Regions from separate parts of the Homo sapiens genome. Here all the other regions are linked to region 3. The links are contacts of gene promoters, found by promoter capture Hi-C in blood cells and fetal thymus (Javierre and others, 2016). All regions are on one chromosome and are shown on one strand. Each heading gives the region's core, a stretch centred on a gene start or on the middle of the fragment in contact. The rest is flanking DNA. Distances are from core to core; before and after follow the strand shown. Region 1 overlaps KLHL22 (kelch like family member 22). Region 2 overlaps ZDHHC8 (zDHHC palmitoyltransferase 8). Region 3 holds the start of RTN4R (reticulon 4 receptor).

The links. Contacts are between HindIII fragments. The CHiCAGO score rates a contact against its expected background, and 5 or more counts as called.
Region 1: a contact is called between a fragment that was not itself captured here and the fragment with the promoter of RTN4R in region 3, in 5 of 17 cell types (M0 macrophages, total CD4 T cells, M2 macrophages and 2 more). The highest score is 8.1, in M0 macrophages.
Region 2: a fragment that was not itself captured here is called in contact with the fragment with the promoter of RTN4R in region 3 in 4 of 17 cell types (M0 macrophages, M1 macrophages, fetal thymus and 1 more); the score reaches 8.5 in M0 macrophages.

What each region holds. Positions count from the first base shown.
Region 1 is chr22:20,456,076-20,460,525 of GRCh38, reverse strand. KLHL22 (kelch like family member 22) reads left to right here. Exons shown (of 7, transcript NM_032775.4): 5 at 2,526-2,718. Among named protein-coding and RNA genes, the nearest start is that of SCARF2, 20 kb to the right of the region's middle. RefSeq lists a silencer at 598-796 and an enhancer at 3,761-4,262. The HindIII fragment of the contact is 5,197 bases long and covers 1-4,450 here.
Region 2 is chr22:20,138,410-20,142,745 of GRCh38, reverse strand. It overlaps ZDHHC8 (zDHHC palmitoyltransferase 8), which reads right to left. Exons shown (of 11, transcript NM_013373.4): 2 at 3,431-3,552; 3 at 3,111-3,268; 4 at 2,854-3,026; 5 at 2,529-2,631; 6 at 2,038-2,129; 7 at 1,734-1,875; 8 at 1,409-1,529; 9 at 1,216-1,325. Among named protein-coding and RNA genes, the nearest start is that of ZDHHC8, 8.8 kb to the right of the region's middle. The HindIII fragment of the contact is 2,442 bases long and covers 1,778-4,219 here.
Region 3 is chr22:20,266,920-20,270,739 of GRCh38, reverse strand. RTN4R (reticulon 4 receptor) reads left to right here and starts at 2,422. Exons shown (of 2, transcript NM_023004.6): 1 at 2,422-2,669. The coding sequence starts at 2,648. RefSeq lists silencers at 2,159-2,218, 2,269-2,428, 2,519-2,678 and an enhancer at 2,890-3,578. The HindIII fragment of the contact is 20,492 bases long and covers 1-3,820 here.

The DNA.
Region 1 (4,450 bases), core at 1,068-3,567, 190 kb before region 3:
GTGATTCTCCTGCCTCAGCCTCCCGAGTAGCTGGAACTACAGCCACACACCACCATGCCTGGCTAATTTTTTTATATTTTTAGTGGAGACGGGGTTTCACCATATTGGACAGTCTGGTCTTGAACTCCTGACCTCGTGATCCACCCGCCTCAGCCTCCCAAAGTTCTGGGATTACAGGCGTGAGCCACCACGCCCGGCCCTGTGTGTGTCTTTAAATTTGAAGCCACAAATCCACATGAACTCAGCTTAAAAAGCTGTGAGGACAATAGACTCGAAGGAGCAAACAGGAGCACATGGAGGGTCCTATCTCACTCTGGTTGCAGACACTTGGGGTGCAGATGGTGATTGAGCCAGACTGAACACAAGAGAGGAGAGACTTGTATATAAAGGAGGAAGGCGCACAGGAAAGGCAGTGAACAGCACCATCCCAGCCAGTTGACGGGGCCCCTGTGAGTGCTGTGCCCCAATCCTGGACTGCTGGTCCCCTGCCAGACCTTCTTCTGGCTTGTGCCCCAGGTCATGCAGGTCTCAGACCCTGCCTTCTCAGGAGGCCTTTCCTGATCACTGCAAGGGAGCTCTGCCCTCCCCAGGCCCCGCTGACCAGCAGGTCACTCATCTTCTTACCTCCCTTTCTTTCTTTCACAGTGTCTGTCATTATATTAAGCACTCATTTGCTCTGGTTAGCCTGTTTCCATTCTGCAGGGGAAGGCAGGGCCCTGACCTCTTGAGGCTCCCTCTGGATGTAGTGCTGAGCACTGTGCCCCATCCACAGTGGGAGACCTGGGAATGTTGGTAGAGTGAATGAATGATTCATTGCTGGTAATCTTACTCCTTTGTTTAATTCATTCAGCAGACAGAACATAATCTGTCCTGAGCCAGAGGCTACACTGAGGTCTAGGAATATAGAAATGAACCATGATCCATCAGAACCCCCAAGTTAACAAGGACACTTTTCATGCTCGTCTTTTATGATTCTTCTTGATAGCTTTTCTAGGCAGGTGATATCACCTCATTGGACAGGTGCAGAACTGAGCGAATCCCAAGAGATTAAAACTGATGCCCAGGCACACCCAGCTAGACAGGGAAGAGCCCAGGATTCACACCAGGTCAGGGAGACCCAGGTGTGTGTTCCCTCTCTTGTTGGCCCTGCCTTCTGAGGCTCCTGTTTGCTGCATTCCTGGTAGGCGGCGGGGAGGGGCTGGCCACACTGCAGGGGCTGCAGGAAGCAAAGGATGAAACTGATCTTTTCACTAACCAGCATAGGGCACAGGCCAAAGAAAACTTTGGTTACTCTCTTGTGAGCCAGTTGAAGTTAGACTTGTTCTCTTTGGAATAGGTCTTCCTCTGCAGAAATAAAAACACTTGTCTGAAAGAGGCTGTAACTATCTGTGGGCTGTTGGGCAAGGACACTTCAGATACTGGCTTTGAGCTCACTGGGTCCTGGCCCCTCATGGCTCTGTGATCATCTCTGCTCCACATTGCAGGCCATGCTCCCTGTTGGTGCTCAGCCCAGGAGCCCTCCTTGGGTCCTGGCCAGACTCCTCCACCCTCGTGGGCCTGCCGCAACCAGTCTAGTGCCTTTTCTCCCATGGGGGTCCCTGGAATCTCACACACCCTGCCCTTACAGAGCCTGCAGTCCAGGGTGGGAGTTAACCCTTTCCACTTTCCCAGAGAGGGAGACCTTGAGTGGAGGGGAGGTCAGGAAACGCGGGGCTGGCAGCATGGTGGGAGGAGGTGAAAGTACGATGACCAGAGCCTTGTGTGTGCGGCTGTTGACAAAGCTGAGGGTATGATGGGTGCTGTGTGCAGGGCGTGCCTGAGAAGACCACTCCTGATGGAGTGCTGGGGGAAGTTCAAGGCTTGGAGGCCAATGAGGGGGCTGATGGCACCCATCCAGTGGAGAGGCTGTATTTGGAGGCCCTCCTGAGTGGGAGCAAGGCTATGTGGATGATGAGATGAGGTAAGTGAGATGGAAGTGGCTGTACGAACAGCCATTGAGGCTGAGGCAGGAGGATTGCCTAAGTCCATATCCCAGGTGTCAAGACCTTGTCTCTATCAAAAAAAAAAAAAAAAAAAAAAATAGCGGGCGTTGTGGTGCGCACCTGTAGTCCCAGCTACTTAGGAGACTGAGGTGGTAGGATCACTTAAGCCCAGGAGGTCGAGGCTACAGTGAGCCATGATTGTGCCACTGCACTTCAGCCTAGGGGACAGAGAGACCTCTCTCCACAAAAAAAAAAAAAAAAAAAAAAAAAGAGCCATTGGACAGCCCAGGTGGACAGTTAGGTGGAAACACAGGAGGCTCCTGGCCATTCCTTCCATGCTGTGTGGTGGGGAGCACCTGTGCTCAGGTGTGTAACAGCCTGTGGGCCTGGCTGTAGATCGGTGTGCACTGGTATGTGGGGTAGTTGGGGAGGGTTCAGGCTGGGCTGAGGCAAAGCAGAAATGGGACCAGAACAAGAGGTGCAAGCCTGCGGAGCAGCCTCCCTGCCTAGTCAGTGCTGTGCTTTCCTCATGTCTCGGCACAGGTATGACCCACGGCACAACCGCTGGTTCCAGATCCAGTCCCTGCAGCAGGAGCACGCCGACCTGTCCGTGTGTGTTGTAGGCAGGTACATCTACGCTGTGGCGGGCCGTGACTACCACAATGACCTGAATGCTGTGGAGCGCTACGACCCTGCCACCAACTCCTGGGCATACGTGGCCCCACTCAAGAGGGAGGTAAGGAAGCCCTCGAAGAGGGGCCTTCTCCTGCCTAATTTCCTTCCCCAGGATGTGCAAAGAGTGAGAGGCCTAGGTGTCAAGGCCTGTCCCAGGTCAGAGAAACAGGCTCAGTGAGCAGAATCCATGCTTCTCCAGAGACCCTGCATTGAATGCATTGATGAGGCCCCATGAGGTTCAGCCAGTCCACCTGGGGAGGCTCATCAAGGATCCAGACCCCATTGCTCAGAATTGTGCCCCACTTGTGAGTCTTACATGCTGAGACCTTGTCACACCACCTTGGCCCTGGCAAGCTGCTTAAACCTTGTAGTTCAAATGTGGATAGAACATTTGCTCTTTGTGCAGCTGAGACGAGCTGGGACACTTCCAGAGATGTTAAACAGGAAGGGACCCTGAGAGCTCACTGGCCTATCCTCAGACCTCTTCCCTCTAGGTCCCCTGAAGGGTGGCGCCTTCCAGAGCCAAGAAACACTCTAAGGTTTTATTTTTTATATTAAATCCTATGTTTGAATATTGGGACAACTTGAAAAAAAAATCACGTGCATCCTATATAATACCTTGGTTTATTCCAATTTGAAGATGTTTAAAATTATGTTCATTATGGAAAAATGATGTTTTAGGGAGGTGCCTCTCTTTTATCTTACGACTTTGGGGTACTCAGGCCTGGTGTAACAACCAGACATGGGATCCCAGGGAAGGAACAGGCCTTGCTGGCCCCCTACTTCCTGGGTCTCAGCCTCCGAGAACAGGGCATACCCTAGCAGTACTAGGGGTACCCTAGCAGGGCACCCCGCTAGTACTGGCATAGCATTTGTGGAGCACCTGCTATGGGCCAGGTACACCTTTGGGGATAACCGAGCACCTGAGAGGCAGAGGATGGTATGGGGGGCAGGTTCTACCTGCACTGCCTCAGGGAGTTTAGCAAGAGCTCTGGCCTTTGTAAGCCTCTTTCCAGTATCTCTCATGACCCCCAATTCCCCCAGGGACTTAGACTTTGACTTCAGGGGTCAGGGCTAGTGTCTCCTCAATGGATCCAGCTCTTCTTTATCCAGGTCATTCACACAGCCCACACAGATTTCTGTCTCTTGGGCAGCTGTGAGCTGCAAGCTGTGGCCTGCTCCTTGCTCTCAGCTTCTTTGGGGAGAAGGAAGCCTCTTTGGAAGGACACTCCGTACCCCCATCCTGGGGAAAGGAGCAGATTTTGCATGGAGAAGATCAGGAGGTCCTTGAGACCAAGTGGACAAGGAGGGCTCTTGGGTTCTGTTCCAGGAAGGGTGTTGGGGGAAGCCTCCTAGGTGGGTGTTGTGGGAGGGGCTTAGCAGTTTCTTTGTCTGCGGCAGCTGGGGAAGCAGCAGTTCTCCAGCTTGGCCACAGAGGGGCAGCCTTGGCTTTCAACCAGCTGCATCGTGGCTGCCGGTGTTCCTTCATGCACGCATTCATTCCGCAACTACTAAGCACCATGTACCAAGTCCTGGGAATCCAGTGGTGACAAGAAATGAGAAAGACTCCCCACTCCATGGTGTTTACAGCCTTGTAGGAGAAACCACTCTTAACCAGAAAACAGATCAGTAAAGTGGTTACAATTATGGTAAGTGAAATGAAGAGGGGGCTGAACTGGAGGATTTCCAGGGAGGGGGCTCTGGTAGGATGAATCTAGAGGGACTTTTTGGGGAATGTCCATCTGAGGAGATGTCAATTAGACCTGCCATTTACAGAGGGAGGAAATGTTACT
Region 2 (4,336 bases), core at 1,749-4,248, 130 kb after region 3:
AAGGCATTCTCACCACTGCCCACCTGCCACCCCGCCTGCAGCCGCCAGTCAGCACCCACGGGGGCCACACATGGCACCGTGGCCTCAGGAACTGGGCCTCAAGGAGCCATAAGAGCCACATAGTGACCCATGGCCCTGTCCCTGAGCATCCACGGCTGAGGGGCAGGGGCTCTGCAACAGGAGGGAGGCCACAGCTGGCTACTGCAGACACCTGGGGTTCTGCCCTTGGAGCCATGCAGCCCCAGGGGCCCACCACTCAGGGCAGCCAGAGGGAGGAGGAGCCTCGTCTAGCCCCTGTGACGGGCACATAGGCATGGGCTTGGGCTTGGGCTTGGGACAAGAGCCTCAGGAACCACAAAGCCAGAAGTGGATCAGGGCAAATGTGGGCTCAATGCACTTGGCCAACCAGACCCAATCCCCCACTGGACCCAGGAGTCCCAGGAAGATGACATACCCAGAGCCCTCATCTCCAAACAGGGATGCCTCCTCCTGCGAGGCACGGCCCCTACATGCCTGCAGACTCAGACCCTTGGCCAAGGAGGCTCAGACTCACTGCTTCACCCAGTGACTCTCTCCAGGAAAGACATCAGTCCTGAGGGGAGAGGTCCCTGGGGATGGGGCTGGTCTAGGTGCACAGGGCCCAGTCACAGGCCTGCCTCTCGGGGTGGCCCAGAAGGAAGGATGGCACCCTGGGACTGTTTGGTGTTCCTGATCACTGCACAGACCGCCCCGCACTGCCCACCATTCCAGTGACCACAGAGCACTCATGCAACTCAGGGAAGAGAAATGTGCTTTCTCAAGCACGTCTCAAATTCTTCCAAAGTCTTCCCGTGGGCCTTACAGAGTGACTAATGGTGGAATTCCAGGCATCCTGGTACACAGTGCTCCTGGGGGCAGCCGCCCACCTGGCCTAGGGCAATGCTGGCCAAGGGACAGACGCCAAGCCTGGATGGCCCACGCCAGCCCCTCCCAGGACACCCTGCTCCCCTCTGTGGGTCCCAGCTCTGGGTGCACACAGACAGGGTCCTACCAGTCACACAAGGCCCTTGGTGACCCAGGCAGAGCCCTGAGGGGCATGGCCTCAGGGGATGTGGCCTCTGCTGGAGAGATGGGGCTCTGGAGGTGGGGCCTTCACGGGGTGAAGGCTGTGGGGCGAGCTCCTAGAGGCGGGCCTGGGGGACGAGGCCTGCCAGGGGGCAGGCTAGGCCTCCTTACCTGCTCGCCTGGTCCACAGAAGGGCACCTTGGGACCCGTGGGGAAAGCCGGCCTAAACTTGTACATGGCAGGTGTCGGGGGGCTGGTCCTCTGCACCGACAGGGCACTCTCTGGGGATGCAGACCACTGTCAGACTGAGGTCAGAGGAGGGTCAACCCATATCCCTCCCTAGTCGTGGCTGCCCCAACCTCACCAGCACTGCCTGGGCGCGGGGTCTGCAGGTCACTGCTGAACGTGCCAGCCTCTATCTTGGGGGGCAGTGGTGGCCCCAAGTCCAGTGGCTTCTCATCCAGCCGGTCCAGGCTGCCCTTGGACTGGGAGGGAGCGGGGTCAGTGGTGTGTGGGGCTTGGATGAGGGGCAGGGCTTCACTAGGGATTCAGCCTGGGACCTAGCCCCCTCCCAAGAATCTGTCTACGGCTCTGTCTGCCCCATCCACCTCTTCTAGGCCCCCACCAACCTGCCTGTTTCCCCATCCAAGGGCCTGACTGCCAGCCCATCCCTAAGCCCAGGCGCCCACCTTGCTACGGCCCAGGCCAGCCTTCAGCCCGTTGTCACTAAGCTTGACCTTGAGCGGTGCAGCTCGGTCCAGGAGTTCAGGCCTAAGGAAAGGCGGCTTCAAACTCACCGCGAGCGGCAGCCGGGGTGGCTCCACCACGTACCTGCACCAGGGCACAGGGGTCAGTAGCCAGCCCACCTGCCACAAACACACAAGGGCAGGGCTGGCCATACCTGGCAAGAGCCAAACGGACCAAGAGGGTCTAAGGCTGCCCGCCCCACACCCAGCAGAGGCCCCCCTCCACCCTGCCCAGGCCGGGCCTCACCGGGGCGCCAGGGGGCTACACAGCACGTGCTCCACATTCCCACAGCAGCCTCGGGTGAAAGGGTTCACACCCCCGCGGAACTTCCCAGTCACCTGTGGATGCAGGACCCTCAGCCAGCCTGGCCTCCCAAGGTCCAGGCCAGGGTGGGCAGGGGGCTGGGCAAGGGAGCTGGGGTTCCTTAGAAGCTGATACTTGCGGGAAGTGGCTTAGGTGGGATCAGCCCAGGGCTGCCCCTCACATAGGTTACCCAGCCTGAACTTGCAGGGAGCTGTGGGATTTCTGGGTCACTGGTGGCCACAGTGTCCACAGGCAGGATGTGCGCAGGGGACGGGGCAGGCGTAGCCCCACGTGGGGGTCTCAGAGTTGGAGCCTCGTCTCAACACAGCTGCACAAGCTACCTCAGGCAAGGGTGCCCCAGCCCCCACCCTGTCCCCATGCAGCCCCAACTCTCTCGGCCCTTTGGGGCCACCCATCCCCCATGGGGTCTGCACCTGCTCGTTGGTGGTGCGCCCCCGAGTGACCAGCACCACATGGAAGCCAGTGAGGCCAATGACAGGGATGAAGAAGAGGCCGGCCACACACATGACAGCCATGCTAGCCCGTTAAGGCCAACGGTGCAGGCCAGGACACCGCAGACCCCATCGCAGCAGCACAGAGCAGGTGCCTGTGGACAAACCTCCTCCCAACCTAGGGACGGCCACCTGCCCACTGGGGATCCCTGGGCAGGAACCAAGCCTTCTGAGGCTCAATCTCCCTGGTGAACGTGTCCCCGGTCCACATCGCCTCTGCAATGAGGCCCACAGGAACCAAGGATACGTGATGGTGGTGTGCGCGGCTCCCAGCCCCTCAGCGTGGTTCAGCACGTAGACCAGGCCGAAGGCCACGACGCCCACCATGTGTGCACTGAGTGACAGCAGGAACAGGAAGAAGTAGCGATAGTTTCGACGCCCGATGCAGTTGTTGACCCAGGGGCAGTGGTGGTCAAAGTCCTGGGCGGGAGCAGTGCATCAGGGCACATGGCAGGCAGGGATGTGGCACAGGGCTGGGGGAGCGCGGGGCAGCAGGGCGGTCACCTCTACACAGTTGTCACAGACGCTGCAGTGGGAGCAGCGCGGCGGGCGGTAGAAGTGGCACGTGGCACACCACTTCATGCGGACCTGGATACCTCGCACATCCACGTTCTTGTACAGCGGAGCCCGGAAGTCGTCCTCCTTGTCCTCATCCTCATCCGCTACAGACCAGGAGCCAGGCAGTGAGCAGGAAGTTGACTTTCCTGGCAGGTGAATCCCTCCCCCAAGTCCAGCCCACCCACCAGGAATCCCTAAGGCTGTCTCAAGTTAGCCACTCACACTCTAGTGAAAGTGAGAGGAGCTGCCGCAGCACAGGGCCCTACCTCGGGGGAAAACACCAGGGTCCATGAAAGTGGCCATGCTGAAGTTGGCCAGGACAAAGAGGAAGATGATGCCATTGTAGACGGGAACAGCTGGGGACACAGCTCGTGTCAACCACGGGCACCTGCAGTAGACAGTGGGGGCAGAGAGTGGAGTCTGGGGGTGCAGAGCGGATGCAGGCGCAGAGCTATGTGGTGCGGCAGGCTGGGCCTGCAAGGTCACCCTCAGAGCTCAGAGGCAGTGGGGAGGCTGCCACAGCCCTGCCAAGAAACCTCAGCCACATCGCTCCTTCGAGTAACGGCCAGAGGCTGTGCGTATCAGTACAGCATGTGGGCTACCCGTGCCCTGACCCGGCAACCTCTCAGGGCAGCCGTCTCAGAGAGGCCCACAGACCTAAGGTCACCCCATTCCAGCGACCTAGGCTCCATGACTGGGGCGGGGTAGGGGGCGGGGGCGGTACACAGGCTGGAGGTGGGAGCCCCAGATGGAAAATGCGCCACGATGCCTCATCCAGGCCTGTCCCTGGCCCAGTGGGGCCTCTCACCAGGCAGATTCTGGGGTGTGGGGAGCCCCAGTCCTTGGTCAGTAAGTGCATGGGGCATGTCTCCCCTACTCTTCCCAGTCAGGCACATCCCCATCCAGACAGCCCCTTCTTTTTAGTTTGTCACCTCCCTCCCCAGATGACAAAGTAGAACACTTAGGGACTCTAGAATGCACAACACCCCCCACCACTTCCCATCTTCCCAGCCATCAGCACTTGGCTCCAAGGCCACCCCCTCTTCCGGGAAGCTTTCCAGGACTCCAGGCTGCCCTCTGCAGCTTCCCTATAAGGTGTGCCCTCACACACCTTCCTGAAAGGCGCCTTCCTCAGCCCTTAACGGGCCTGGCCCGAGTCCCCTCTGAAGAGA
Region 3 (3,820 bases), core at 1,173-3,672:
TGCTAGCCCCTCACCAGCCGTCAGCTGCTCCCCTTCTTGCCCGTTGGGCCCTGGGGGGTGATGGCTCCGTGGTCGCCTGCCCAAAGAGTACACCACTCCCCATGCTACCCCTCACCCGGCTACACCCTGAAAAATGTGGCTTACCAAACCCTCCCACATGCGCAGCCTGAGAAGTGGGCTGTGCCTTGCTGGTAGCAGACCCACCGGCTGCCTAGCCCTGCTCAACTCTGCCTCTGCACCCCCATAACTCCCTATCAGCGCTGGCCGACGCCTAACCATCCCAGCTAGCACCCAGGAGTGGGCCCAGCTTCCAGTGGGGAGGGTGCTGGCCAACGTGCTGACCGAGGTGGCGGACACAGGAAACCAGCCCATCCCCCAGCGCTCCCTCTGCAGGCCTCAGCCCTGCTCCCATGCAGAGACCTGTGGGGAGGTGGAGGCCCAGGTCCCAGCGCAGAGCAACCGGGAACAGCCAGGTTGGTGGCTGGAGAGGGTGCTGGTGCCAGAAGCCTCCAGGGCCACCCCTGCTCCCCATTTCACCCCATGCCCATCCCATGCCCCAGAATGGTCACTTCGGCTGCGGCAGGAGGGGTGGGAGGGGCTTTAAACCTATGAGATAGGGTGTGGGGTCACAATCTTCAGCTATAGTGGGCTGCTCTGGGTCACTGGTAATTGAAGAGACGCCTGCGGAGTAAGCAAGCAAGTGTCCTCTCAAGGCCTTTCTGCAAGCACAGAGCAGCCCGAGACTGGAGCCTGGTCCACCCCAGCGCTGTCCTCAGACTGATGGTCAGTGCCACGTGACTCATCTAGGGTCTGATACATCCCTGTGGAGAGAGCTCAGTTCCTAGCCTGGGGGCTGCTGTGTGCAGGGACCCTGGAGAAGAATGCTTGTCTGGGGGTCAGGCCTCAGCCTCCCACTGGCTCTGTGAGCTTCGCCTGAGGTTCCCTATCTGTGCAATGGGTGATGACGTCTTGGTGTGGCTCTGGGAGGACCTGTTGAGCCACCTCAGGGGCTGAGCTGGTGGCACTCGGCAGCCAGCACCCTCTGGGGAGGTGGCAGTGTGTGCACAGCCCACCCCTTCAGGAGGCCAGGGGACAGAGTGGCTGGGGGTGTCTGGGCCCCACCTCACCTTCTGTGTGGCTGGGAATGGCATGCACTCCACAATGCCCTCATAAGCCTAGGCTGGGACAAGGGTGATAGGGATAAAGCAGGCCAAAGTGATGAGGGCCACAGAGCGGCAGCCAGAGGCATGTGGGCAGTGCAGCCTCCACACCAGGCAGAGGGCCCACCCAGCATGGCTCCACCCTGCGAAGCTGCCTGCCACTGGGATCAGATGGGAGCACCAGGGCTCTGGGAGGTCCTCACTTCCTCTGCACAAGGCAGGCAGGTCACCGGCCCTGCGCCCTGCTCATCTCCCTCAGGGCCACCTCCATGGCCAGGGGCAGGCAGAGGGCACAGGGGTGCCCAGTCACCAGGTCTCTCTGCTTCATATCAGTGGACCTGGGCTCTGAGGGGGGCCATCAAGGCATCAGGCTGGCCCACTCCGTCCTTGAGTCAGGGTCCTACAGACTGACACCAGGTGGGCCTGCAAGACCCTCATCTGCATGGTCCTCTCATGCAGGGTGGGCCTGGGGAGGACCCAGCCCGGCTGAGCTGACTCCCAGCACTTCTCCAGGTGCAGGGGCAGCCTGGCAGTTGTCTGAAGACCCCGGGATGCACTTAGGAGCTCATCGGTGAGGCCCGGTAGGTGCCCCGAGCAGAAGATTGAGAAGGGACACCTGCACCCCTGTGTGGTGTGTGCAGGGGCGTCACTGGATTCTCTGGCCCCATGCCTCACACCGCCCGTGGGGGGCTGGCTTGGTAGAGTGGGGGGATACTAAGCAGGTGACCTCGGAGAGCGTCTTCTGGGTTTGGAGCCCCCATTCCGCAGAAGGGAAGAGGTGGGGGACCCCTGCAGGGTTACGGGTAACATCAGGCCTAGGTCCCTTCTCTAGGATGGTGCAGAGAGGGCCACAAAGGCCCAGGAGGGCCCCCAGAACTCTCTTAAGCCCTGAGCCTGTTTCTTACTGAAAAATGGGGGCGATCGTGCTGCAGCAAGGGGCTTCTGTGCAGGGGGCGGGGGATTCATGGGTTTCGTGAGGCCAGGAAGGGAGTGGGTCAGGCAGAGGCCATTCCTAGGCCTCGGGACAAAGCCCTTGCCCGCTTGGGGACCGGGCCAGCCTAGGCCGCCACACCCTCGGGCCCGCGTCCCCGGCCGGCTCCGGCCCGGGCCGCCATCCCCTCCGCCGCCTGCAGGGGCCGCCGCCTCTTCAGGAATGCGCCGCCTTTGTCTGGGACCGCGCGGCGCCGGTGCACCGGGCGGGCTGAGCGCCTCCTGCGGCCCGGCCTGCGCGCCCCGGCCCGCCGCGCCGCCCACGCCCCAACCCCCGCGCCGCCGCCGCCCTCGCCCTGTGCGCCCTGCGCGCCCTGCGCACCCGCGGCCCGAGCCCAGCCAGAGCCGGGCGGAGCGGAGCGCGCCGAGCCTCGTCCCGCGGCCGGGCCGGGGCCGGGCCGTAGCGGCGGCGCCTGGATGCGGACCCGGCCGCGGGGAGACGGGCGCCCGCCCCGAAACGACTTTCAGTCCCCGACGCGCCCCGCCCAACCCCTACGATGAAGAGGGCGTCCGCTGGAGGTGAGTGTCCGCGCTGCACCCGAGCCCGGCCGGCGGCGGGGCGCGGAGGGGGGCGGCTCGCCCCCTCCCCGGAGCCGCAGGGCCCGTCCCGGGCTGCCGAGGCGAGGGAAGCGTAGCCGGGCGGCAGGGAAAGCCACCGCAGTGCCGCGCCAGGCTGGGGCCGCTGGCGCCCCGGCCCCGGGAGGGCGGAGCCGGAGGCGGCAGGAAAAGTTGCCGCTTCCCGGGAAAGTTGACGGCTTCGGCAGGGCCGAGGGTGGCGGTCCGAGGGTCCCCGATGCTGGGCCAAGTCGAGGGCGGGGGCCGTGGGCTGGAAGGGCGGGGCCCGGCCTCGGAGCGCCCCGGCCACCAAGGGGTTAACGAGCGGGTTTTTGCAGAAACGTGGGTACCGAGGGTGGGTGGGGGTGTCGGGCCGCCTCCACCCCAGCCTCACGGTCTGGGCTCAGAACCTCCCGTTTCTCCGAGGTCAGTCCACAGTGGGATGAATGGGGGCGTTGGCGGCAGTAGAGGGCGTGGGGGACAGGGTTGTCCCAGCGCTGCCTCCAGGGCGGGCGGTGAGAGGAGGCAGCAACGCCCGCCATCTGCAGCCCGAGGGACATTGAGAGGCTTGGCTGGGGGAATCAGGGGCGGTGGGGCAATCAGCAACCCCTCCCTAGCAGCCCTCGTGGGACTCCCCCGCCCCACCGGCTGTGAGGTCCCGCGGTGCGGGCAAGGGAGGGTGGGCTCCATGTGAGTTGGGCATGCCCCGCCTGGAGGGTGCTCCCCAGGTGCCCACCCAGGCTGCCCTGCTGATGTCCATGGTGCCGCAGGCTGCACACACGTTTCCTTGCACGTGCACTTGTCTACACGGACTGCACACTTGCACACCTCTGGTGCACATGCAAGCCAACGCCGCCCCAGTGTGCACATGCACAAACACTGGGTGCACACACGGACTCTGAGGGTGCATATCTGTGTCCTCGCCCCCGCCTGCACACCCACGGCCACACATGCATGCACGCGGCATGCCTGCTGTGGTCTCCACGGGTGGCACATGCTGGGGCCCCTTTCGCAATAACCACTCCCGCACCCACATGCTCGTCTGTTGAGTGGGGAGGCCAGGCCCACAGACAGGGGCAAGACATCCTGGGCCCCACCTCTGCCTGCCTGCCTCC